7 separate regions of the Homo sapiens genome follow, and regions 1, 2, 4, 5, 6 and 7 are each linked to region 3. Evidence: promoter capture Hi-C in 16 types of primary human blood cells and fetal thymus (Javierre and others, 2016). All regions are on one chromosome and are shown on one strand. The core of a region is centred on a gene start or on the middle of the fragment in contact, and the rest is flanking DNA. Distances in the headings are between cores, read along the strand shown. Region 1 overlaps ST8SIA5 (ST8 alpha-N-acetyl-neuraminide alpha-2,8-sialyltransferase 5). Region 2 overlaps LOXHD1 (lipoxygenase homology PLAT domains 1). Region 3 holds the start of ARK2N (arkadia (RNF111) N-terminal like PKA signaling regulator 2N). Region 4 overlaps LOC105372096 (a long non-coding RNA gene). Region 5 overlaps LOC105372093 (a long non-coding RNA gene). Region 6 overlaps LOXHD1 (lipoxygenase homology PLAT domains 1). Region 7 overlaps LOXHD1 (lipoxygenase homology PLAT domains 1).

Region 1 (3,281 bases), core at 100-2,599, 500 kb before region 3:
AAAGACCATTTTGTTCCACTTTAGGAAACAGGCCCAGAGCAAAGATGTGACTGGGTCAAGTCATGCCTGGGGCTCTACTGAGTGCCTGCTGTGGACAGAGCCCTCTACTGGAAGCCCTCTGGGTACTAGTTATGTTCCAGATGGGCAGTGTTTGGGGGAGGCTCCCTGGTGACACAGACATCAGGATTCCCACAGCTGAGGGTGTTGCAGGTTGGAATCTGCCCCAGCCAGGGCCCTCGTAGGAGCTGAGGATTGGAGCATCGGGATCCAGCCCACAGAGGAGTTGGGACACCTGGCTGCTGGCCATATTCCTGCCTGTGGGTCTTAGGGCCAGTCCTTCCTCTCCCTCAATGTCTCAGTTTCCTCATCTCTACAACTAGAAGCTTTGTAAAAATCTTCAGCGTCTGTACAATGTCCTTATTTTGGGGGGACATTCATGATGAATGGATCTAAACCATAATTAATATTTCTCATTATACTAGCTAGCATTTATCAAGCTACGTTAAGCACTTTCCCTATATTATCTCCTGTAATCATCATGAGACCCCTTTGGGTAAGGAGGCTCCCATTGTACAGATGAGGAGACAGAGGCTTAAAGCAATTCCAGGACTTGCCCTTGGTCAGGCACCCAATGGAGGGAACGGCACCCAATGGAGGGAACTGCACCCAGATCTGTAGAGCCCCAAAGTCTGTGCTCCAAACCTCTGTCTTAGCTTCCCAGACAGTGACACCAGAACATGAGGGATCCTGACCAAGATGCCCCTGCAGGATAGTACGGGGCCCTCCTCCAGGGACAAATGCTCTAGGAGGCTGTCATCGTCCGGGAAGCAGCCTGTGCTTATAGGTGCCTCTCCCTAACCCTGCCGCCTACAGCAGTAGCGACTTACCCACAGTGGCACTGGAGGGGAACTGAGGCCATCGTCACATTTTTAAGGTGAGGAAAGATGCCCAGAGATAGCACATGTTAAGTGACAACACGAATGACTTGCCCAGGGCTACATGGCCAGCTTGTGGCTCAACTGGGACTCACCAGTCTCCTGACTTTCAGGATATAGTTTTTCTGCTGCAGCCAGTGTTTATAAGAAAAACATTTTTTCAAAGGCTCAGAGAGACCTGGTGTTGACTCTGGAAGCCTTCTGCCATGTTCCTCCACAGCCCTGTCACCACGCCACCATGCAGTGCAGACTACCCATTGAATTATTATTCAAGGGAAATCGATTCCCGTAAACAAAACAACCATCATGTCTTCCTTTGTGCTAAACCCACTGCTCCAGGCTTGAAAGGCAGCAAAAACAAGTAAATGACTCAGTGCTTAGCCAAGCACAAAGAAAGGTGGCTCAAGGTCAGAGGCAGCGTCTGAGACCATTTCAGCAATGCTGCTGCGGCAGCTCTGCCCACTAATCACCTGGTGCCCAGAGACAGCATGTGCTCATCGCCCTTGACTTTGCTGAGAGCAGGGAGGAAGCAGAGCAGTGCTTAGAAACAACTGAGGCAGAGTAGAGTGCTGGCCAATTTAGTGAGTGAATTGGTGAATAAATTATATTTATTGAGTGCTCATGTTGTGCCAGGCATGGTGCCAGGTGCCGGGGAGCTAGTGATGAACAAAACGTCGTCCCTGCCCTCCGGGAGTTTGTGGTCTGGTGTGTGTGTATACAGACGTTAAATGACGAATCCCACAAACGTACGTGGGAGCTGGTTGTGCTGAACACTATCAAATCCAGTCTCAGGGACAGTTATCTGGGAGAGGTGGAGGAGGGGATGACCAAAGTCAATTCCGAATTCTGAAGGTTGGCAGCATAAAAAGTGTAATGAGCAAAGCAGCAGATACTTCTCAGATATCATCCTTGACATCCGTGTAACATTTGACAAGGTTGGCCTCTCTGGTCTTTTTTGTTTGTTTGTTTGAGACAGAGTCTCCCTCTGTCACCCAGGCTAGAGGGTGGTGATATAAATATGGCTCACTGCAGCCTCGACACCTGGGTTCAAGTGATCCTCCCACCTCAGCTTCCCAAGTAGCTAGGACCACAGGCACGTGCCATTGCTCCCAGCTAATTTGAAAATTTTTTTTTTTTTGTAGAAACGGGGTTTTGCTATGTTGACGAGGCTAGTCTCGAACTCCTGAGCTCAAGCAATCCTCCTGCCTTGGCCTCCCAAAGTGCTGGGATTACAGGTGTGAGCCACTATGCACAGTCTCTCTGGTCTTTCTAAAGTCCTCTCCTCTTCTGTTTTCTAACTATTCTTCCCTGACTTTCCTCCTGTCTCTCTGAATGCTCCTTCTCAGGTTCCTTTGTGGATTCATCTTCCGTGAAGCTTCCTCAGGGTTCTCTTCTCTTCCTAGGAGCATTCCTGCAGAAATCTCATCTATTCAAAGCCTTAAGTATCTTCTGCCCTGGCATCTTAACCCCTCTACCTGCAGGCCAGTCCTCCCTAGGAGCATTGGAAGCATGCTCACTGTGGCCTCCTGCATGTCTGTGTCTGCACAGCATCTCAGACCTCAACATGTCCTCAACTGGTATAGTTAAAAGAACAATCTGAACTCAGAGTCTCCTCCTACTACTTCGTAGCTGTGTGAAATTGAGGGAGCTCCAGAAGCCCCTGGAGGCTCTGGACTCATCATCTGAAATGAGGACAGGATACCAACCACAACAGCTGTTGCAAAGCTAAGTGAAATAGTGTTGCACAATGCCTAGCACAGTGCCCAGCACAAACTAGACACTAGCAAGCACAGGTTGCCTTGGCCCAAAACTTGGATCACCTTTGCCTCTTCCTTCTCCTTCACTCTTTATGTCTATTTGTTCACTGTATCTTGTCAATTCCAACTCATAAACATCCCTTTAAGTCATTCCCTCCCTGCAACCCCTCTGCTACTGCCCTAACCCAGACCATCTGATGGATCTTTTTGCTTTCAGAGAATAACCTTCCAAAAATACCTTTTGTGGGGCCCATTGCCTACCTGTATCATAAACTTCAGGTTCTTTACCAAGTCATGCAGGGAATGTCCCAAGCTGGCTTACTCACCTTCCCAGAGATCCTCCTGCCACCTCCCTGCCCTATCCCATACTATTCCAGGCACCTTTGCACACTCTGTTCAAACACCTGGAATGGCCCTCACACTCCTAAGTTCCTCTCTCCTTCCTTTTATCTGGCCACTTTTGCAGAAGTCAGGTAATGGCCCCCTGCATCCTCCCCTCTAGAGACCTGGGCTGGGCACTCTCTCCTCTGTGCTTCTGCTGCAACCATCACCGACTCCATTAGGACATCCTCACAGCACACAGCATAAG
Region 2 (3,447 bases), core at 879-3,378, 400 kb before region 3:
ACTTGGAAACTCTGTTGCCCCTACTGTTATGCTGCCTCAGTGGTGAGCAAAACTATACAATTAGCAAGGCTACTTAGTCCCCGTAATCAATTCTAATCATTTCCCTCCTTGGAAGGGGCCCAGTATCCCTCTAGAGCAAGGAGCCAGAGGAGATTTGCCAAGGAATTAGCTCATGATAAATGATTGGTGACTGACAACAGCTTAACTTGTTTATTTTCCCAGAGGAAGCTGCCTTTTGAAAGGAGAGCTGGAAACTTGACATTGGATGATATTCCAGTGGAAGAAATTGGGGGTGGGTGTGAGCTGTGCTTTATAGGTAGCTCCTGTCCCATGTGTGAAAGAGGAGTTGCCTAACCCATCAGCTCTGGATTTTCTGATATCTGAGCTTATGTCTTCCCTTGGTGTTTGGGTCCTGGGGTAGCCACTGTCTAACTGGCCTTGTGGTTTCCCCCCACAAGGCTGACGAGTTCACTATCGAGTCTGTCACCATGCGGAATGTGAGGCGGGTGAGGATCAGACACGATGGCAAAGGCTCCGGCAGCGGCTGGTACCTGGACAGAGTGCTGGTGAGAGAGGAGGGGCAGCCTGAGAGCGACAACGTGGAGTTCCCATGTCTCAGGTACATGCGTCCTGCCTGCTGGTGTTTTCTCCAGCTTAGGTTATGATCCCTGTGTTTTGGGAAGACCCAGCCCTACTACCATGACCAGCAAGCAAAACAGTGGCTTAAGGCTATAGCTGGTGCAAGAAAGAGGTGACCTCGCTGGTGGTGCTTAGACCTGAGCCTCACATTCCCTTCTCACCCCCTACCACCGTGATGAACACCACTGTGGTGTGTTCCGGTGTGCTGCTAGTTTCCTCTATTTAAGCAACAAAATGTGGGTGCTTGTTCATGATAAAATTTGGCAATTCCTGAATTTAGGTGAAAGTTAGTTCAGAGAGTTAGTTGCAGATTGAATTAAACTTTTAAATCAAAAGTTTTTTTTTAATTTAAATAACTTTCTGACCATACCTCTTCCCTGTTAACTTCTTTTCAAGGTATCTTACCTTGTTTTCCTTTCTGCAATTTATTCATGAGATAAAGTTTCCTTTCTCTTTTTGCTTAAGCATTTGGGCTCCCATTGACTTAAAGAAGTCCCTGATAGAGAGATTTTAGAATGAGCAATACCAGTGTTTTTCATGTCATCATGGTGGCTCTCCACATTTTATGTGGCAATGTCTGGAGGATTCACACTGTATGATTGACTTGGGGCCTTGGACTGACCCGGCTCTGCAAATCTCAGTTCCAAGGCTGAGTTCTGTATGTAGAGATGAGTTGCTATGTGTCCACTTTATTAGGGCTGGTCCAGGGCTCCTCAAGGGTAGCTACACTGAGGACAGCCCTCCTTTGAGTGGATGAGGGTGAGTTGCACAGCTGCCCAGTAATGAGTGTGTTGCTCTTCCTCTTACCATGAACGCAGATGTACTCACATGCATGCCTGTGCCTACAGGCGCACACACACAGGCACACATCTGCTGCAGCTGAATTACTTAGCACCCCACCAACCCAGGCCCAGTAGTTTCCCAGCCACGGAGGGCCACTGGGAGGGCTCCATAGGTCAATGATTGTGAAACAGATTTTGTCAATGACAAAGAGCTCTACAGTCTTCTACATATAGCACTGTTTGTATTACAAGGAATTACATTGAAAAGGTAAGTAATAATGCAGGCAGCTCCAAGTGAGTGGCACTAACAGAGGGCAGGCCAGGCAGGCTTCCAGGAAGAGATGGAAGTGCACCTGGGCCTGGAAGGGAGGTCAGAGAGTGGACAGAGGGAGAGGAAAAGGGAGGGTGGGCCACCTAGGCTGAAGAAATGGCATGAGGCATGAGCAAGGGGCTGAGGGGTGGCTCATCCAGAGGTTGGCAAGGGGCGCCTGGCATGTGGGGAAGGAGTGAGAAGGCTGGGGTGGGAGAGGGTGGAGTGTGAACCCTCATTCTCCTAAGCCACGGGGGAAGCGGGGTGTGGGGGAAGAGTACAGCCTCGCTTCAAGTCATTACTGGCGTTTTCACCCCCATCCTGGATCAGAGGCTGACTGGCTGGATGCCAGATGGAAGAGCTTGCATTGTTTTATTCCTATCTACTCAAAATATATTTATACCTACTATATACTTACTCCCTGTCCTCATGGAGTTTATAGTCTAGAGGGAAACTAGACTAAAAGCAAGTGAATAAAGCCAGAATGACACACTGTGAAGAGTGGCGTGGAGGAAACACACAACGGTGCAGGGGCTGGAGCCGGGGCTAGAAATGGGAAAGGCCTGCCTGCAGAGGGATGTTGAGGCTGGCCTCCTGTGGAATGAAGAGGAGAGCACCAGGGGAAAGGACTGGAGTGTTCTGGAGTCCAGCAAGACAGGCAGGTAGATGGAGGCCACTGTCCGGCAGGGCGAGGGAGACTCTTGCATGCGAGGAAGGCCTGTCTGGCCTCTGGGGATAGGACAGGGCCCAGGGAGGAGGGGAGAGCAGTAGGAGATTTTGGGGAGTTGATGACGGCATGTGTTCATGTTCCAGGGCTGTAACAAAGTGCACAGACTGGGTGGCTTAAATGACAGAAACATAATGTCTCACAGTTTCGGAGGCCAGAAGTCCAAAATCAAGGTGTCAGCCAGGCTGCACCCCTCAGAAGGCGCTAGGGAAGGATCTGACCCGGGCCTATGTCCTCACCCCAGCAGCCTCCAGAGTTCACTGGCTTGTGATTGGCCACCTTCTCTCTGCGCCTCCTCACAGCATCTTCCTCTATATATATCTGTGTCCAAATTTTCCCTTTTCATAAGGATACCAGTCAGATTAGATGAGGGGTCACCCTAATGACCTTATTTTAATTTGGTTACATTTGCAATGACCCTATTTCCAAATAAGGTCACATTCTGAGGTACCGGAGGTTAGGACTTAAATGTATGAATGGGGTGGGGTGGGGGGACACAATTCAGTTCACCACATAGCAGCTTGGCCCTTAGTGGTGGCAGTGAAGGTGGTGAGACGGGGCTTATTGTACACCAGAGAGGACCCTGGAGGGACAGTTCATGGGCCTTGCCCATAAGAGACAGAGAAAGGGCCAGAACTGAAAGCCCCAGGCTTTTGCCTTTGATAGGTGGGTTGAAGGTCATGCCCTTTACTGAAATGGGGATCCTGGGGAGGGAGAGCTGAGGGGTGGGGACGAGGTTGGACTCTGGAGGTCTAGTTGGGATGTGTTTGGTTTTCAATGCAGAGTTAGGCCTTGAGAAATGAATTCAGAGAATAAGAGCATAGAGCTAGAATTTAAAGCCAGGGAACTGCAGGGGATCCTTTAGGGAGAGTGTGGATAAAGAAAACAGTGAGGGCCGAGCCCTGGGGCAGGCCAGGAGAAGGAGCCTGGAAAGGGGAAGAGGAAGAAGTTGGTGTGTGCACACTGCATTGTCACATGCATGGTGCTGG
Region 3 (3,282 bases), core at 395-2,894:
TACAAAAATTAGCTGGGCGTGGTGGCGCGTGCCCGTAATCCCAGCTACTCGGGAGGCTGAGGCAGGATAACTGCTTGAACCATGTGTTTTTTTTTTTTTTGTCCTGAGACTCCTCAGGACATCAGGCAGTAACTATCAATTGTAGGCCTCTAAAAATGCTTGTTAAACCAAAAGGCAATGCTCTGATTACTGGAGGAATCTAGATTGCCAAGATCAGCAAAACTACATTAGAAAGTTAATAGCTTCCATCCTTAAAATATCCCAAGAGAAGAAAGGGAGTGATTCTGTTAGCATGTACCCAATACTACACAATAAAAGCCTAAGCAAAATTGGCAGATGTTTTTGTAATTAAGAGGTCCAACCTTGACGAAGTATCATCAGTAGGATTTTAATTCTACTGGGTAAGAGGATTCAGAAAGCAAAAGGTCAGGCAAAAAACGAAAAACCCATCCAAACAGAAACTGCTCAAGGATCTGGTAGGGCTCGTACCGATGTTCTCTACTTCAACCTGTGAGCATCAATTTTGTGATGGGGGCTGCCGGGGACGGGGGTCGGGGCGGGGGGGTGGACAATTTTAAAGTGAGAATGAATGGCTTGCGTAAAGGCGATAGTCTTTAACACGGGTTCGTCAGTGTACATCCTCGCCGGTTTTGAAATAAAGTTGACAAACTCCCCAGAAGCGGTCTATTTTGGAGACTGACACATCTCTCGCATTGACTGGAGGCGCCTGCCGACCGAAGGTAGTGGAAGCGCCGAGAGGCAGGCGGCGCCAAGCCTATAAGAAAGCCTTTTCTCCCTCCACCAAGGCCACTGCGGCCGCGGCGCCGGAGCTCTCCGCTGCAGGGGCAGGTGTCGGCGCCAGACCCCCTACTCTCGGAGCTGGCGGAGTTGCCGCCACTGCTTCCCCCGCGGGCCTAGGAGCCGGAAAGTTGCGTGAAGACAACTCCAGGGCCGTGAAGTCGCTTCCCCCCGCAGCCCGGGGACTGCGGCACCTCCAGCCTCCCCTCAGCACCCCCGGAAAAGGACTCGCCTCAACCCGGCCCCAGCGTCTGGGGGCTTGGAGTGCCGGAGCCAACTCCGCCGGGCCGGGAGGACGCTAGGGTCACCAACGGCGGACGAGCAAGGAGGTCGGAGAGGTGCGATGCCCCAGCGTCAGCCGGCAATCCAGGCTGCGAGTTCCCGGCGCCCACCAGCCAGGCCCGCTAGGACCCCAGCGTCCGGACGCCGCAGAGCCCTCACCGCGGCCCGCAGCCCTCCGATTCGCCCCGACCCCTCCCTGGGACGCAACCCGGGCCCCCCAACTCGACCAGTAGCCAGGCCGCGGCCCTGCGCCCCTTCCCGCCTCACCTGCGCTCCGCGGCGACTCCGTGCCTTCTCGCTCGCTTCGCGCGCGCCCCGTCGGGGCACGCACCGAACCCCCGGCCGGGACTCTTCCCCGCTGCGGTGACTCAGGACGCGACGGCCACCGCCGCCTTCTCCTCCTCGGAACAAGCCCCGGCAGCGAGCAGTGGGTCGCGGTCAGAGCCCCTGCCGGGACCAAAGTGAACCTCGCCGCCTCCGCAGCCTCTACCACCAAGTCCCTTCAGTCGTCCGCGCCGCCCCCAAGAAAATGTCACCAGAGGCCGTTCCGCTGGGCGCCTCACTTCCGCCCGGAAACACAGAGCCCGCGTCGGCCGGCTAGAGAGGCAGCTGCGCCGGAGACCTCTGGAGACTGGCGCCCGAGGCCCGAGAAAAGCCAGACAGCGCCATCTGGCGCGATGGAACCCGCGCTCCTCCCGCTGCAGACCGCGGGGCGTGAAGGCGCCGGCTCCCCGGGCTTCTTTCCCGCGCTCCCTCCTTCTGTTGAGACCGTCACCTTCCCGAAATGTCTTTCCCGGGGGGTGGGAAAGCCACTCAATGCAAGCCAAGGACAATGCCTTCAGCAAAGGACAGCGCTCCCTTTTCTGTGCGCTGCTCAGTACTCACCCCCTCCTGAAGCCCTTCCGAAAGCAGCTTGCGGTGTCTGAATCCCAGAGTCGCTCCAGCGGAGAGCCCGTGCCCTTCTCTCCCCGCTTTTTCGCGGATGCCGATAGCTGGGCTCGGGGAGACTCGGCTGAGCTCTTCTCGGGCAGCGGCACCAATATCTGCTCAAGTTTCTGTCCGGGCACCTTGCAGGCCTTGCAGATCGACCGCCACCTGCTGGTGGGACGTGGCCCGCTGGGGAGACCCCGCTCTGCCCCGAATTCCGCCTCTGCAGTCGCCCTCCGATTTGCAGTCAGCCCTGGGGAGGGTGGGGGAAACGAGGTGGACCCGAACCCCGAAGAAGGGGAGGAGGGCGCAGGCCCACTGGCGGGTGGAGCGTTTCCCAAGGAGGAGCAGGAGATGCTGAAGACATATCTCAAGACTCAAGATCTGGCCAAGGACCCGCGCTCCCCCAAAGCAAAGCAGTGTTTTGAGAAGAAAAATAATAATAATAAAGCTTTGAGGAGGAAAATGTAAACGGTCTTTACCTTTACAGAGCTGTGCTGGAACCTCGGATGAGACCCGTCAAGAGGAGATTCTGAAAATCTCACACCACTGGGTCCGCACTCCCCTAAATATCAGTCTCCCCCTTCAGACCAGGCCCCTTAGTTCCCCCACTTCACTCATTTTTTCTGACTGCCTACAGGAGTGCGAGTTTTTCATCCCCAACTACAAGAATAAATTAAGAAAAGAAAATAATTTTATTATACCAGGCACCTTGCATTTAAATGGGTTAAATCCACTGAATCCTCATTACAACTCATAACAACCCTATGAGTTGGATGGCGTTACTAGTCCCAAATTGCAAAGGTGGAAACTGAGGGACAGAGTGACCTGCCCAAGATGACACATCCAAGTAAGTGGCAGTGTTGGATTCCAACACAGGCAGAGCTTACTTTCTTAACCACAGCCACCAACTGCCTCACTGAGAATCACAGAGAACGTAGTGTGTGCTAGCTAAGTAGTTTATCCGTGTATGTTATTTCACTCGTTCATTCATTTATTTACTTTCTGCTACCTGAGTCCTCAAGGGATTTGAGAGGTTATGGGGTAGTGACAAGAGCCCAGCCTATTTCAGGAAAAAAAGAAAAGAAAAGGAAAAATCACACTAAGATCACAACTTTCAGTCTGGAAATGAATGAATGTGGACTAATACATTGAGTTTTTAAAAGATTCCTTGACAGTCTGATCTAATCAATGCTGCAGAAATACTGAAGTAGGACCCTGACTACTGAGATACCATCTTGGGTCCTTCTCCTGTTTTTTGTTTTTTGTTTTTTG
Region 4 (3,387 bases), core at 386-2,885, 490 kb before region 3:
GTTCAGATTGTTGGCAATAGGGCAGTTAAGGGGAACTATGCTCTTGTAAAAGAGAAATCTTCATGTTTTATAATGTTCAGATTGTTGTCTATAGGGCAGTTAAAGGGAACGATGATCTTGTAACAGGATCTACGTTATTCTGAGGCAACAGGTAAGGAACCACGAGGGGTGGGTCAGAGAGCAAGCTGACTTGCTGATGAATGCTGAGTGTGCTGCAAGCTTGGTTTATTTTCATTTCTCCCCCTCCCTTCTTTGCTGATTAATTTTATAAAGTTTATAGGGATGGTTTCAAACTCACGTAGAAAAGAGTTGCCCTGGCCATGTTCAGCTGGTCCTATAGATTGAGGCAGACCTGCCAGCTGAGCCCAGCATATATATGTCATCCCAACCCAGCCCCAGACATGTGAGAGGTAACACCATGCCACTGAGATTTGTATGCTTGCTTGTCGTGTGGCAATAGCTGGCTGACACAGGAATGCACACAACAGCTCTAACGTCAGCGTGAACTAAAGCCTGCAGAAGGAAAGCACCAGGCCCGTTTAGAAAACAGGGGTTTCTTCTGTTTATCCACAGTGTGGGTTTCATAAGGAGAAGGTTGGTCAGATTATAGAGGGTCTCTGCTATCAGCTTGAGGAGCTAGAATTCTATTAGTTTCATAGACATTTGTTATCTTGGTAATCCAGCATCTGAATCCCCTTCTAAAGTTTGAGAAGAGCACAGTTCCCAGCATAGCAGTTGGAAAGGCCAAATACTCTCTTTCCCAGCCTCCTTTCCAGCAAGGCTGTGGGCACATGACTTAGGCTCAGCCAATCAGATGCTCCGGCCCCAGACTGAATGGCAGAAGGCAGCAGAGTCCATTCTGGTGAGGGCGGCACAAACAGGCAGCTGCTGTGGCTCTAGCAGCAACAGCCAGTGCTGAAGCTTGTGGTGCACGCTGTACATCCAGGCCCAGCATTGGTGGAAGTCGGGTCCTCTCTGGACCAGCATGATTCTAGGCATCATTTCCAGAGTGTAGATCTCTGGGACATTCTGAGATCCACCTTCCATCAGCTTAAAAAAATAATTTTTCTACTTAAACTAGCCATTGTTGGTTTCTGTTGCTTTTAATCCAGAACTCTGGCTGAGAAAATTCAATTGCCGTGGGGCGTAAGCAAATGTTTTTGAGCTGGAGAGGAATATGACCAACGCCATCCAGCAGCAAGAGAATGTACTCTAAGGAGGAGACGGGCACAACGATATCATTTTGCACATTTGGACATGTCTGTGCACATGCAAATGGTCATTGGATGAACAACCTCTCCCTATTATCATAGGCTTGGGGTCCCACCCAAGTAATCACCCTGTCTGTCCTTTGTGCTTTTATCAGTACACAAGAAACCGATGGGACTCTACATCTTAGCTTTATCAATTAGGACTCCTCACCACCACTGCACAGTTCAGGGCCTTGTGCTATGCCTACTGAGGCCTCCTCCTACCTCTCCACAAATCTAGACCTTGCACTGGGATGAGAAGTGGGTCTGCAAAGCATGCCCTGAGCACCCGTTCACAGCCAGCTATGTGCAGGATCCTCACACCAAGGAGCTGGGGTGGGAGTTGAGTCAATAGCCAGGCCTGCACCATAGGCGTGACCCAGACAGGCCATCACATGGAGATGGAAAGGCAGCAGATAAGGCCACTTCAGAGAGACAGGGTGGAGCCCATGTCCTGCTCCTGAGACCAAGCAATGCCTCTTCATGCTTCCTTGCAGACCATTCCCTCCCACTAGTCCAGCCCTTGGCAACCATAGGCTTCTTTTTTTTTTTTTTTCTCAGACAGGGTTTTGCTCTGTTGCCCAGGCTGGAGTGCAATGGCACAATCACAGCTTACTACAGCTTATTGCAATCTCCACCTCCCAGGCTCGAGTGATCCTCCAGCCTCAGCCTCTTGAGTAGCTGGGACTACAGGTCTGTGCCACCAGGTTTTAAATTTTTTGTAGAGACTGGATCTCCCTATGTTACTGCTAGTCCCAAACTCCTGGGCTCAAGCGATCCTCCTATCTTGGCTTTCCAAAGTGCTGAGATCACAGGTGTGAGCCACTGCACCCATCAGGCCTGTTTTCTGATCCTATAGTTTTACCTTTTAGAGAATGTTACATCAATGTAATCACACAGCATGTATTTTTTCTGACCGCTTTTCTGCACTTAGCGTAGTGCTTTCCAGAGGCATCCATGTTGTAGCATGTTTCCCGACTCCCTTCCTTTCTATTGTTGAGTATTATTGCCTGTACAGATGTACCTCAGTTTGTTTACCCACTGGCCAGGTGATGAATGCCTGAGTTGTGTCCAGTTTTTGGTTATGAATAAAGCTTCTATGAATATTTACATACAGATCTTGTGTGGATATCCTTTTTCATTTATCTTAGGTAAATACCAAGGAGTGGAATTTCTGGGTTGCATGGGAAGTATTTGCTTTGCTTTATTTTCCAAAGTGGCTGCACCATTTTACACTCCAACTAGCAGTATGAGAGTTCTGGCTGCTCATGTCCCTATGAACTCTTGGTATTTGTGAGGGTTAATTTTTGGTGTCAACATGACTGGTTGTGCCCTCAATGTGGGTGGGCACCATGCAATCGGCTGGGGGCCCCGACAGAACAAAGAGGCAAAGGAAAGGTGAATGTTTTATCTCTCTCCTGGAGCTGGGACACCCTTCTTCTCCTGTCCTTGGGCATCAGAACTCTAGGTTCTCCAGTCTTTGGACTCTGGGACTTGCTCCATCACCCGCTCACCACCAGGTTCTCAGGTTTTGGGCCTGAGACTGAGAATTACACCACGGGTTTCCCAGGTTCCCAGGCCTTCAGACTTGGACCCACCACACTACCAGCCTTCCTACGTCTCCAACGTGCAGACTGCCTGTTGTGGGACTTCTCGGCATCCATAATCCCATGAGTCAACGCCCCTAGTAAGCCTCCTGTCATATATCTACTGATCTGTATATCCTAGTGGTTCTGTCTGTCTGGAGAACCTTGAAATAATACAGAAATAATATAGAATTATTTCCCTGACCTCCTAGCCAGTGTGTTCCAGTACCATGGGATTCTCTAAAAATATTTTGATTTCAGCTTTTAAAGTTCTAAGAAACAGCCGGGCGCGGTGGCTCACGCCTGTAATCCCAGCACTTTGTGAGACCGAGGTGGGCAGATCTCGAGGTCAGGAGTTCGAGACCAGCCTGACTAACATGGTGAAACCCTGTCTCTACTAAAAATACAAAAATTAGCTGGGCATGGTGGCGTATGCCTGTAATCCCAGCTACTCGGGAGGCTGAGGCAGGAGAATCACTTGAACCCGGGAGGCGGAGGTTGCAGTGAGCCGAGATCACACCACTGCACTCCAGCCTGGGCGACAGAGGGAG
Region 5 (3,165 bases), core at 666-3,165, 490 kb after region 3:
ACTGTGTTATTTCTGCTCTGACCTGGTTGAAGATAAAAGCTACAAGTCTACAAAACACACACACCCCAACCATCCTGTTAGCCGAACTCTCCAAGATGAAATTAAAACAATCCAATAGCATTCAAGTCAGTAAGTCTACTCTTGCAAAAGAATGATTCCAAAACTCGAGGTGTTTGGAAGTGTACTCGTAGAGATGTTAATATGTGGACACACACACACACACACACACACACACACACGCCCTTCTCTGATAAAAGAAGGATAAGTGATTCATTAAAAGCACACTGGCATTAAAGTCTTTGAGAAGCCAATGCTAATGAAAGATGTTAAACTTTATTTGGCTTAATGTACCTGGATCTCATTGGATCATGTGACTTTTTCTTATTTAAAATTTTTTCTTTTGGATATGTATTTAAGATCCATGACTGATGAGTTATGGAAATACTACCTTAAAGCAAGAGGAATGTGAACTAAAGATTTTTCTGGATTCTGAAAAACAATCCCATATGCAAAAAAGAATAGTCTTTTCAATAAATAGTGCTGGGGCAACTGAATATCCACTTGCAGAAGATTGGGGACTCTACTACCATATACAAAAAATAACTCAAAGTGGATCAAAGACCTAAATATAAGAGCTAAAGCTATGAAACTTTCAGAAGAAGAGTTTTGTCTCCTCCCTAGCCTGAGCCCTTAACACTCAGACAGTTTCCATCTCTCCATGGAAGCCCATCCAGCACCCTTTTATTCTCCTCGGATAACAGTCTCAGAACCAGGAGTTCAAATAGTAAGTGAATCAAGCAGCACGGATATCCTGTGCTCAGTAATATGTTTGGTCTCCAAAGTATGTTGTGTTCAAGTAATTATAAGATGAGGTCTTTGACTTTAGAGTTTCCCATCTTGCTGAGCAAATAAGACCCTCCACCCAGGTGGCAGGTGATACCAGATAACATAAAATTGAATGTTGAATTATATGGTCAATATTAAATTTATGTAAAAACTAGAGTTTTCTTAAAGAATGCAGAAGCTTCTAAGACATTCATGAGGGAGGTAAATTGAAGTTTTTGGGGTGTGAAAGGCACAAACCATTTATACGTCCCTCAAGTTATGCCAAATCATATTTCCATTCTTTTCCCCCAGTGTCAACAGTAAGTGGGGTTCCCATGAGCTCCTCTCTGAGCCATTTGGGCGACTGCTGTGATGGTAAGGAGGGAGGGTGGGCATGGGCCACAGAAGCCATGGAGCCAGCTGCAGGTCTGCTGCTGCTCTTGACAGATGGTAGCCACCTGCCTCAATCCCCACCCCCGCAACCCCAGTCCCCGTCAGGGCCTTTCTAGGATAAGGCCTTACAGTGACTGGATTTGCAAGCTGCACACTGACCCATGGCCACTCATGCAATCATGTCCTGGGCTTCTACGTGAATTCTACTCAAATTCCTGTGCTGAGACCCCCTCTGTCTACCCACCTCCTTCAGTTCTTCAGATAGCCAGGAGAATTGGCCTTCTTAAGTCATTTGCGATGCAGGTAAAAATGCAGATACCCCATCACTTACTGAATCCCAATATCTTAGGGTTCAGGGGAGGTGCTAGAATCTGCATTTTGGTTAAACATTATCTTGCTTAGTACCCACCTCCTGGAATTAATTCCAGGCTTACAGGGATGCTGAAGTAGGGGTCCATCTGTCAGTAAATATGTATCCACGTGCCAGGCCTGGAATGGGGGCCATGAAAATACATAATCTGGCCCCTCAGAGGTTATAATGTGTTGGGGAAGATGAGTTATTCACAGGTTGTGGTGTGATGTGTTGGGCAGGAAGCCAAGTCATGGGGGTGCTCCCCACTCACACGCTCATGATTGGGTGAAATCCGGCTAAACATTGATTCAAAGAGCACCCAGGGGAGTATGCAGGGATGGGGAAAAAGCCAGCTACTCTTTCTGCCTTTCTCCAGTAGGGCGTTTCATGAGCTGATTATGAGTAGGGATCTGTCTGGGTCTTTCCTTTGCTCCAGCTGGAAAATCTACAAATATTTTGGTTGTGGGGTGCCTTCCTGGTTTGTTCCAGTCCCTGCACCATGGAGCCTGGGTGTGCTGGGTCTTCAGGATAGAAGGTGCCACCTCTCTCTGCACTTCCTTTGCTCCCTGGGGTGCTTGTCAAGTGAGTACCCCACAAGTGAGGCTCTGTGTATATTGGGGTGTTGTGTTGCTGTCTCATGCTGTCATGGGTGAGGAAGGAGTTTGAAAGCAGAGAACTAGCCCAGGGGGATCTTTGATGCTGCAGCCATGGGAGAGCAAGCTCCAGTTGCCACCAAGAGCTCAGCACAGGACCAGCTACGTAATTCATGGGGCCCAGTACAAAATGTAAATATGATTCATTTGTTCAAAAGCTATTAAGACTTGCAAGACACTGATGGGAGGACAGATGACAACAGAGAAGGCAATGCCTCTCTTTTGCTGGACATAACTTATAACTTTAGTATAACTGTGTCTGTCACTTACTCATTCACTGCGGGAGAGAGGCCCCAGTTAGGGGAATGTACAAAACTCATCGCTGTTCACAAGGAGTTCACAGTCTGTTCATGTTGAGAACCTGGGGCTAAGGCCAAGGAGCCACAGCGGGGCCTGGGAGAACAGGAAGCCAGTCCCTGAAGGCGGCTTGTGGCCCAGGAATGGTGATGGGTGCTCCAGCCACAGCCCAGACTCCCTGTCCTGCCCTCCAGGCTGTCACTTTAATCTTGTGTCCTGAGCTTTCCATCTTGCTGTATGCTAGGGTTAGAAACTAGCTAGGAATCAGTGTCTCTCTGGAAGCTTAAAAACAAGAACTACACACAGATGAGCAGAATAGGATTCACAGGTCTTTAGAGGGGCCAGGAACACAGCTTACATTTGTCCAAATCCAGAGGTTAAGAACTGTATGGTTACAGCCCTCCTCTGACCTCAGGGACAGAGACAATCTCCATTTGACAAAATCATGCTGCCTGGGGCTCCTCCCACTTGAGAGCTCTCTAGAGAATCTTCTCCCTGCAGCCCTGCACAGAGCAGCACAGCACAGCACCGAGCAGCCCCCACACCTTCTACTGATGGGGCCCCCTGGGGAGCTTTGGCAACCACCCCGGCCTGGGCCGCCCCTAAGGTTCTGATAGAGCTAGTCTGGGCTGTTGCCTGGGCCCC
Region 6 (3,483 bases), core at 472-2,971, 460 kb before region 3:
GTCATGGATAGACACATCTGATTATAAAGACAAGCCACAGAGATGGGTGGAAAGAGCTTTCCAAAGGGGCAGAGACCTGAGTCCTAGCCTCACACTTTGGTAATTATGTGACTCTGGGCAAGTTGCTCATCCTCTCTGGGTCTCTGTTTTCTCATCTTCTTACCAGGTTGCTCGAGATGTTCTCTGAGGTCCCTGTAGCACTGGCTTACTCTGACACTGTGCTAGCTAAGCACCTTCTTTCTTGCTTGCCTCCAGGTGTCTCCCACCCACTGATTTCACACCCCCCCCCATACCCACTTTGATGTTGTCCCTTTTGGTGAGACATTCACAGGACACAGTGCCCAGGTGCAATTCATAAGCCCACTGCAGAGTTGCCCAGGCTGAGAATGCAGGGCTACTCAGTCCTCTTTGACTTCAGGGAAGCCCTGGGCACATCCCTGCCTTCCCTATGGGGCAGTATTGAAGAATGAGGTTGGGCGAGACATCTGAGTTAGGCAAGGCCTGATAAGATGGCGTGTGCTCTCCAGGTAGATTTGGGATGACCTCATATTGGGTCTTGAAGGAGCTTGGGCTGGTAGGGAAGCATGAGCAAGACCTGTTTAAGGCAGATCCTGCCTGGCCTTCTCACGACCAATATGATGTCATTTCCTGCTTTCTGGCCAAGTAATTGCCCACAGCCCAGTGCCTACCCACAAACCCTCCTACTTCGAAAAGCACTGAGATGATCATGTGGCTTAGATTAATATTGAGCCCACACCATACTGCCTGGGGAAGGCTCCACCAGCTTGGCCATGAGACAGGCCTCTGAAGCCAAGAGCTGCGTTGCAGCTGACCTGGGGGCTGCTCACACACCAGGGCTGTCAGAACCCAGCACAACAGCTCAGAAATGTTTCAGACTCAGGCACTGGCAGAAGCAGAGAGGCCCCTTGCATTCAGAGGGCCCAGTCTTGAGGTGGGTCCTGATTCCACACCTGCTCTTGTTCTTTAGGTTTTGGGAAGGACAAGCCACCATCTAGGGGGCATGTAATCTTCTTGGGTAGATTAATAACAAATATGGTTGCAGCCAGTTTTGTTGTATGCTTCAAAGAGAAGAGAGGCTGATGATTACAGGAAAGGGAAGCCATAAGAAGAAACAACAACTTGGGCAGGTGGGCTGGGCGCATGCAGGTGGTGGGAGGGGTGGATGACGTTTACATCTGGACTCCCATTCTGGAGCAAATGAATTGCCTTTTTTTCTTTCTTTCTTTTTTTCTTTTTTTTTTTTTTTAATGCCCAGTGAGAAAGCTGGAGCTGGGGGCTGAAAGCTGCACAGCACTTGGGAATGGGTAGAAATGGAATTGTGTTTGTTTTCAGCATAATCACTGTTTCCATTCCTGGCTGTTTCATCAGGTAACTGGGTTATAGTTTTATTCCAGGCCATGCAGTGCCACACAATGATTATCACACAGCTCCAGATGTGTACCCGATCTTGACATGACCATGTTGGGCGTAGTGCCCAGGGTGCATTTGAGGGGAGAATGGGATAAGAAAGGGATGGTGATTAACGTATTAGGGGCATGTGCAAATTGTACCGCCCTGCAAAGGATTATGGACCTGCCAGAGGACTGCATAGTGCAAATGCAAAATGAAAGTACCCTGCATGATTGGAGCATAAAACACCCATCGCAAAGGCTCTGTCAAGAAGCCAGAAGCACTGACTTATTCCCAGATTCTATAGGATATTATCGTAGAGTAATTAAATCATTAATCTTAAAATAACTCTCTGGGTCAGAAAGCACATGGGACTATACATCCTGAGTTCTGGTTCTGGCTTTGCCACCAAATAGCAATGAGACCTGGGGCAGATCTCAGTTCCCCTCCTATCCTCAGTTTCTCCCTCTGTAGAGTGCCTGGACTAGGGGGTCTCTTGGAGTCTTTTCAGGATTACTAGAGTGTCCACTTTCATAACCAAAGGGAGACGGAGAGGTCAGGGCCAGCCCTCCTCCATGGGGGCAAAAGGAGATTGGCCTTTGGTGGCTTCCTTTCTACTGTGGATCTTTCTGCCCTATTTCATCTCCCCATACTTCCCATCTTCAAGATAGTCCCCCACCATGGACTCGGTCTCTGGACTCCCCTTCTCCATGGTCAAAAGCTAGCTCTGCCATTCTGCCACTTATGCTAGCATGAGCAGATGCCTTAAGCTCTGTGCCTCTATTTTCTCATTTGTAAAGTGGGGAGAACATTAATTTCTACCTGATAAGATTAGCTGGGGAAATGAGCATACAGGACTTAGTGCCGAGGCACAGAGTCAATGCTCAGTAAATGACACAATAGCGTGGTGCTTGTCCTTGTGGTTAAGCTCCTGATGTTTCCCTTTCTTCTTCCCCCACATCCAGGCTTTTTCTGATTCTGAGATGCACAGGCTTAAGATTCTAACCTCTCAGAAAGTACTCCAGAGCTACTCAGTGCCAGGTTCCCCTCTGGAATCCAGGCAGGTTCAAGCAGACAACTGGGAATAGGCTCATCACCTTGACTGCTGTTAAAGCCAGCAGGGAAAGCCTCTTTTCCCGACGCTTTGTCATTTTCCTTCACGGAGCACTCTCCAGGGCTCTCTGAGCCTATTTGCTGTGGGTGCTGCTTGGGAGTCATTGTTCCTTTGAACTCCATGGAAGAATTCCCAGGTGGGGGCAAGGACTCCAGGGTAGGGAGGGCTGGGCCAGCCCTGCAGCACTTTCCTCCACTGAAGCTCACAGCAGCTCCCCGCCCACCCCATCTGCTCCCACCTAGCACTGCAGAAAATCATCTCCGGAAAGAGGGGGAAGAAGAGAACCACTCTAAGTGAGGCCCTGTTGTGGCACATCAGAGAATTTAAGGACCAAAAGGGACTTTATCTACTCTTCCTCCATTTCAGAGAGGAGAAAATGGAAGCCCAGGGAAATTAAGCCCCTTGCTCTTGGTCACACAGCATAACTGTAGGGCAGAGCTGCAGTCTTGGGCTTTTGGTGCCAGCTCATGCTCCTCCATCATTCCTCCTGTTAAGCACATTCATTCAGTGATTCAATGGGCATTTTGCGGGGAGCCTTCTATGCACCAGAGCCTGCGCTCAGGGTGATTACATACAGGCCCTTCTCTCTAGGAGCTTAGAGTCTAGACGGGAGAGAGTCAAGCCAGTAGATAATCACAGTGCAAAGGGATAGAATATTCTAAGTGGGGTATGGCGCCCAGGCCAATGGGAGCATAGAGGAAGAAGGAATCAGGAGGCCTTTATAGAGGAGGTGATGCTCAAACTGAGTCTTCATGGGTGAGGAGTTTTCTAGGATTTGAAATGAAATGAGGGCACTTGGGGAAATGAGCTCTGATGGCTCAGTGTCACTCACACACCTGGGAATGGATCCTCCACCTCATATTTTCACTGTGGCCTCCACCCTCCCAGAACCACCACCAGCCACATTCTCTTTCAACCCAGCAGCCAGAATGTTTGGAGAATGCATGGAATTGTGTATT
Region 7 (3,580 bases), core at 122-2,621, 430 kb before region 3:
TGCCCAGGGCAAAGGAAGGTATCCATAGGATGAAGCCAGAATGTGAACTTCTGACAAGCATGGATGTTTCCCAGGACATTGATCTGAACTCTTCCTGATATTGAGTGCTTAGTATATGCCAGGCCTTCTAGGTAGGTACCTGACCTACATGGTGTCCTTCAGTCCTCACAACCACCCTATAAAGTAGGAACTGTTATTGTTCCCATCACACAGATGAGGAAACTGAGGCAATGGAAGAGCCTTGTCCAAGGGCACACAGCTGGCAAGTGATAGATTCAGGATTTGGTCTGCTTCCTAAAGCCCTAACCTGTATGAATTCCACAGAAAACTTCCAACTCCCAGCATGGCAGTCATGGTCATGCATGTTCTAGAAAATCAACGTTGATATTGTGTACATCTGAGAATGTTCTCTGCAGCAGAACTCCCATGACTCACCATGGGAGAAAATCCATGTTCTGTAGTATAATGTACACATTTCTCCCCAATTTGGCTCCATTCATCCTACCCACAGAGTCTTCCCATACCCTCTCTCCCACTGCACATTCACACCTTCCATTCTTCCCTCCATCTTGCTCCCATGCCTTCCCTCTCCCCTCAACTCCCTGCTTGCCTTGCTCTTTCTCTCTCTCTATCCTCGGAACCTGCCTTCTCCTCATCCTGAAAAGTCTTTTCTCTTCTTTCTGCCTCTCGAATTCCTGTTTCCAGTCACTTCCTCTGAGCCCTCCCTGACCTTCTCTGGCCTGGGTAACTTCTCCCTTCTTTTGCTCCATGCTCCTTGGCAGACCTTTATTGCTGCTGTTCAGAAGCCTAAATGCTCCTCTGCTCCAGTCCTTTTCAACCTCAGCATTGCGGGCTGATCATTGTGAGGTGTGGCACAAGTCATCTACAGATGAAAAGTTTGCAGTTTACTTAAAAACATACTCGAATAGAATTAATATATACTGAATATGTGAATATTATATGTCTCCTAGTGGTAGAAGAAGAGCAGAAATGATAGCAGCTGGGCATTGCTTATATCCTAAACGATGAAAGTATATCTGATGTGGGAACACCATTTGTCCATGCATCTTAGAGAAATAAAGCTCGAGACCTATTTTTTTTTTCTAGAGCAATGACCATTCCTTTTTATTTATTTACTCCCAAAGGCCTGGAATCTAGTAAGCACTCAATAAATGCTGAACAAAAGAAAATGTAAGTTTAAGAATGAATAATACACCCATGTAGTTGCATGTATTATCACTCAAAGAAATTTGGGATTTTTATTTCTCTGAGGTTATGGGATAAGAGTGTGGGGTATGGTAGGGTGAGGGATGGGTAGGGGAATTAACAAGGCTTAAAGTGACAACCGCCTTAGACCCCAGGACAGAATTACAGAATGTAGGCCAGGCATGGTGTCTCATGCCTGTAATCTCAGCACTTTGGGAGTCTGAGGGGGGTGGATCACTTGAGGCCAGGGGTTCGAGACCAGTCTGGCCAACATGGTGAAAACCTGTCTCTACTAAAAATACAAAAATTAACCAGGTGTGGTGGCACATGTCTGTAATCCCAGCCACTCAGGAGGCTGAGACACGAGAATCGCTTGAGCCTGGGAAGTAGAGGTTGCAGTGAACTGAGATCACACCACTAGATTCCAGCCTGGGTGATAGAGTGAGACTCTGTCTCAAAAAAATAAAAAATAAATAAAATAAAAAAATCTAGGCCAGGCCAGTCCTTAGTAGAATTGCCTGTCCAAATGTTTGTCTTTGGTATTTTCTTTTACTTCGCCCAGTCCCAGAGTTTAATCTCCCTTTGCTAGTTCTTCCTCAGAATTCCATGTCCTCATATTGCCTCCTGATAGACCAGAACCTCAAATGGCCCAACCAACAATGTTCTCTCTCTCCCTCAATCCTCCTCACCCTACCACATCAGGCAGCAAAGGAGGACATTAATGTCCTCTATTAAAAGTTATGTTTTTAAGTTATCAGCAAAAGAGCAAGCGAAATGAATCAGATAGCCCTGAACGTAAATCTCCATTAATGGAGTTGACTATTATAATTAGATTAGACATAACAGAATTCATCTGGCAGCTATTAATAATGTACGCATGGTAATTATCATTAATAATAAGTACTATTCTTAGCCAACCCGAGTTCCTCCTTCTCTTTGTTAGTTTCCTCTAATCAGCACTGACAGCTTCCTGTAATAATACGTGCGGTTTATTCTCAAACTCAGATGCATTGGACACACAAACTCTGGAAAAGATGAAATGAGGTCGAGAGGGACATTAGGTGGCATCTGGAGGAGTAGGACATGATGGGGAAAGAGGATGTGTGGAGGAGGAGGGCTTTGGGGGTGTTGTAACCAGGAAGGGGAGGAGGGGGTGGGATATTATGATGCAGCTCACATTGAACACTCTCTTTCCTGTTGTTTCCACACCAGCTATTACGTATATTGTCACCGTCTTCACTGGGGATGTCCGGGGGGCTGGTACCAAATCCAAAATCTACTTGGTCATGTATGGGGCCAGAGGGAATAAGAACAGTGGGAAAATCTTCCTGGAGGGCGGCGTGTTTGACCGAGGCCGCACGGACATCTTCCACATCGAGCTGGCTGTCCTCCTTAGCCCCCTGAGTCGGGTCTCCGTCGGGCATGGCAATGTGGGTGTCAACAGAGGCTGGTTCTGTGAGAAGGTAAGGGATGCCCCCAGAGACAGCCTTCCCTGATTCAACCCCTCTCCTCTTTAACTTGCAAGTACAAACTTTAACCTGAATGCTACTTCTCTGAACTAGTTACAGAGTGCATGGGCAATCTCTTTCATTGGGCATTTTGGGTGGTTACGTGTCCGTCTATCTTGCCTCAAAAGTGGTCAGGAACAGGGGCTGTTCTGTGCAAGCGTCCAAGGGCCAAGCAGGACAGGTTACCCAGAGGCGCTCAGTTGGTGGTTATGATTATCCTGATTCCTGGTGTAGTGTTTCACCTCAGCTTATAAATCTTTCAATCAATAAGTATTTTAAAGTATATGTTTGTATTGTGGAATACTTATACTTTAAAGAATATATATTAATAACTGTAAGACATAAGGAATGTTAAAAAGCAAACCTCAATTTTGTCTATCACACAGCTTGAGAAATAGAACATTCGTGATGCTTTTAAACTCCTCTGTGTCCTTCCACAGTCATATAGTTCTCTTTCCCTCAAAGGGCACATACTATTATGAATTTTGTCTATGTATAAGCTTGTATTGTTTGTAACTGGCAATTTTTGTCCCTCCCTCCCTCCCTTCCTTCCTTCCTTCCTTCCTTTTTTTTTGGACAGAGTTTCACTTCTGTCACCCAGGCTGGAGTGCAATGGCACGATCTCAGCTCACTGCAACCTCCACCTCCCAGGTTCAAGTGATTCTCCTGCCTCAGCCTCCCAAGTAGCTGGGATTACAGGCATGCACCACCATGCCTGGCTAATTTTGTATTTTTAGTAGAGATGGGGTTTCACCATGTTGGCCAGGCTGGACTTGAACTCCTGACCTCAGGTGTTCTGCCTGCCTCGGCCTCCCAAAGTGCTGGGATTATAGGAGTGAGCCATCGCTCCTGGCCATAACTGTCAA

The links. Contacts are between HindIII fragments. The CHiCAGO score rates a contact against its expected background, and 5 or more counts as called.
Region 1: a fragment that was not itself captured here is called in contact with the fragment with the promoter of ARK2N in region 3 in 1 of 17 cell types (endothelial precursors); the score reaches 5.4 in endothelial precursors.
Region 2: a fragment that was not itself captured here is called in contact with the fragment with the promoter of ARK2N in region 3 in 1 of 17 cell types (neutrophils); the score reaches 5.1 in neutrophils.
Region 4: a contact is called between a fragment that was not itself captured here and the fragment with the promoter of ARK2N in region 3, in 17 of 17 cell types (total CD8 T cells, monocytes, naive CD4 T cells and 14 more). The highest score is 31.5, in total CD8 T cells.
Region 5: a fragment that was not itself captured here is called in contact with the fragment with the promoter of ARK2N in region 3 in 1 of 17 cell types (naive CD8 T cells); the score reaches 5.4 in naive CD8 T cells.
Region 6: a fragment that was not itself captured here is called in contact with the fragment with the promoter of ARK2N in region 3 in 3 of 17 cell types (M2 macrophages, naive CD8 T cells and megakaryocytes); the score reaches 7.8 in M2 macrophages.
Region 7: a fragment that was not itself captured here is called in contact with the fragment with the promoter of ARK2N in region 3 in 1 of 17 cell types (neutrophils); the score reaches 5.2 in neutrophils.

Annotation. Positions count from the first base shown.
Region 1 is chr18:46,674,679-46,677,959 of GRCh38, reverse strand. ST8SIA5 (ST8 alpha-N-acetyl-neuraminide alpha-2,8-sialyltransferase 5) reads left to right here. Exons shown (of 7, transcript NM_013305.6): 7 at 1-3,281. Among named protein-coding and RNA genes, the nearest start is that of LOXHD1, 19 kb to the right of the region's middle. RefSeq lists enhancers at 307-1,152, 1,153-2,000. The HindIII fragment of the contact is 1,927 bases long and covers 386-2,312 here.
Region 2 is chr18:46,574,879-46,578,325 of GRCh38, reverse strand. LOXHD1 (lipoxygenase homology PLAT domains 1) reads left to right here. Exons shown (of 41, transcript NM_001384474.1): 14 at 459-619. Among named protein-coding and RNA genes, the nearest start is that of LOXHD1, 81 kb to the left of the region's middle. The HindIII fragment of the contact is 7,960 bases long and covers 1-3,447 here.
Region 3 is chr18:46,172,396-46,175,677 of GRCh38, reverse strand. ARK2N (arkadia (RNF111) N-terminal like PKA signaling regulator 2N) reads right to left here and starts at 1,644. Exons shown (of 5, transcript NM_145055.5): 1 at 1,348-1,644. RefSeq lists enhancers at 631-760, 1,361-1,410, 1,441-1,700, 2,021-2,070. The HindIII fragment of the contact is 7,725 bases long and covers 1-2,460 here.
Region 4 is chr18:46,658,623-46,662,009 of GRCh38, reverse strand. LOC105372096 (a long non-coding RNA gene) reads left to right here. Exons shown (of 3, transcript XR_935430.4): 2 at 95-151; 3 at 1,113-1,810. Among named protein-coding and RNA genes, the nearest start is that of LOXHD1, 3.1 kb to the right of the region's middle. The HindIII fragment of the contact is 1,423 bases long and covers 924-2,346 here.
Region 5 is chr18:45,687,736-45,690,900 of GRCh38, reverse strand. All of the region lies in intron 7 of LOC105372093 (a long non-coding RNA gene), which reads left to right. Among named protein-coding and RNA genes, the nearest start is that of SLC14A1, 35 kb to the left of the region's middle. The HindIII fragment of the contact is 1,778 bases long and covers 1,027-2,804 here.
Region 6 is chr18:46,627,577-46,631,059 of GRCh38, reverse strand. The region is part of intron 4 of LOXHD1 (lipoxygenase homology PLAT domains 1); the gene reads left to right. Among named protein-coding and RNA genes, the nearest start is that of LOXHD1, 28 kb to the left of the region's middle. The HindIII fragment of the contact is 7,452 bases long and covers 1-3,483 here.
Region 7 is chr18:46,600,306-46,603,885 of GRCh38, reverse strand. It overlaps LOXHD1 (lipoxygenase homology PLAT domains 1), which reads left to right. Exons shown (of 41, transcript NM_001384474.1): 8 at 2,419-2,669. Among named protein-coding and RNA genes, the nearest start is that of LOXHD1, 55 kb to the left of the region's middle. The HindIII fragment of the contact is 3,691 bases long and covers 1-3,216 here.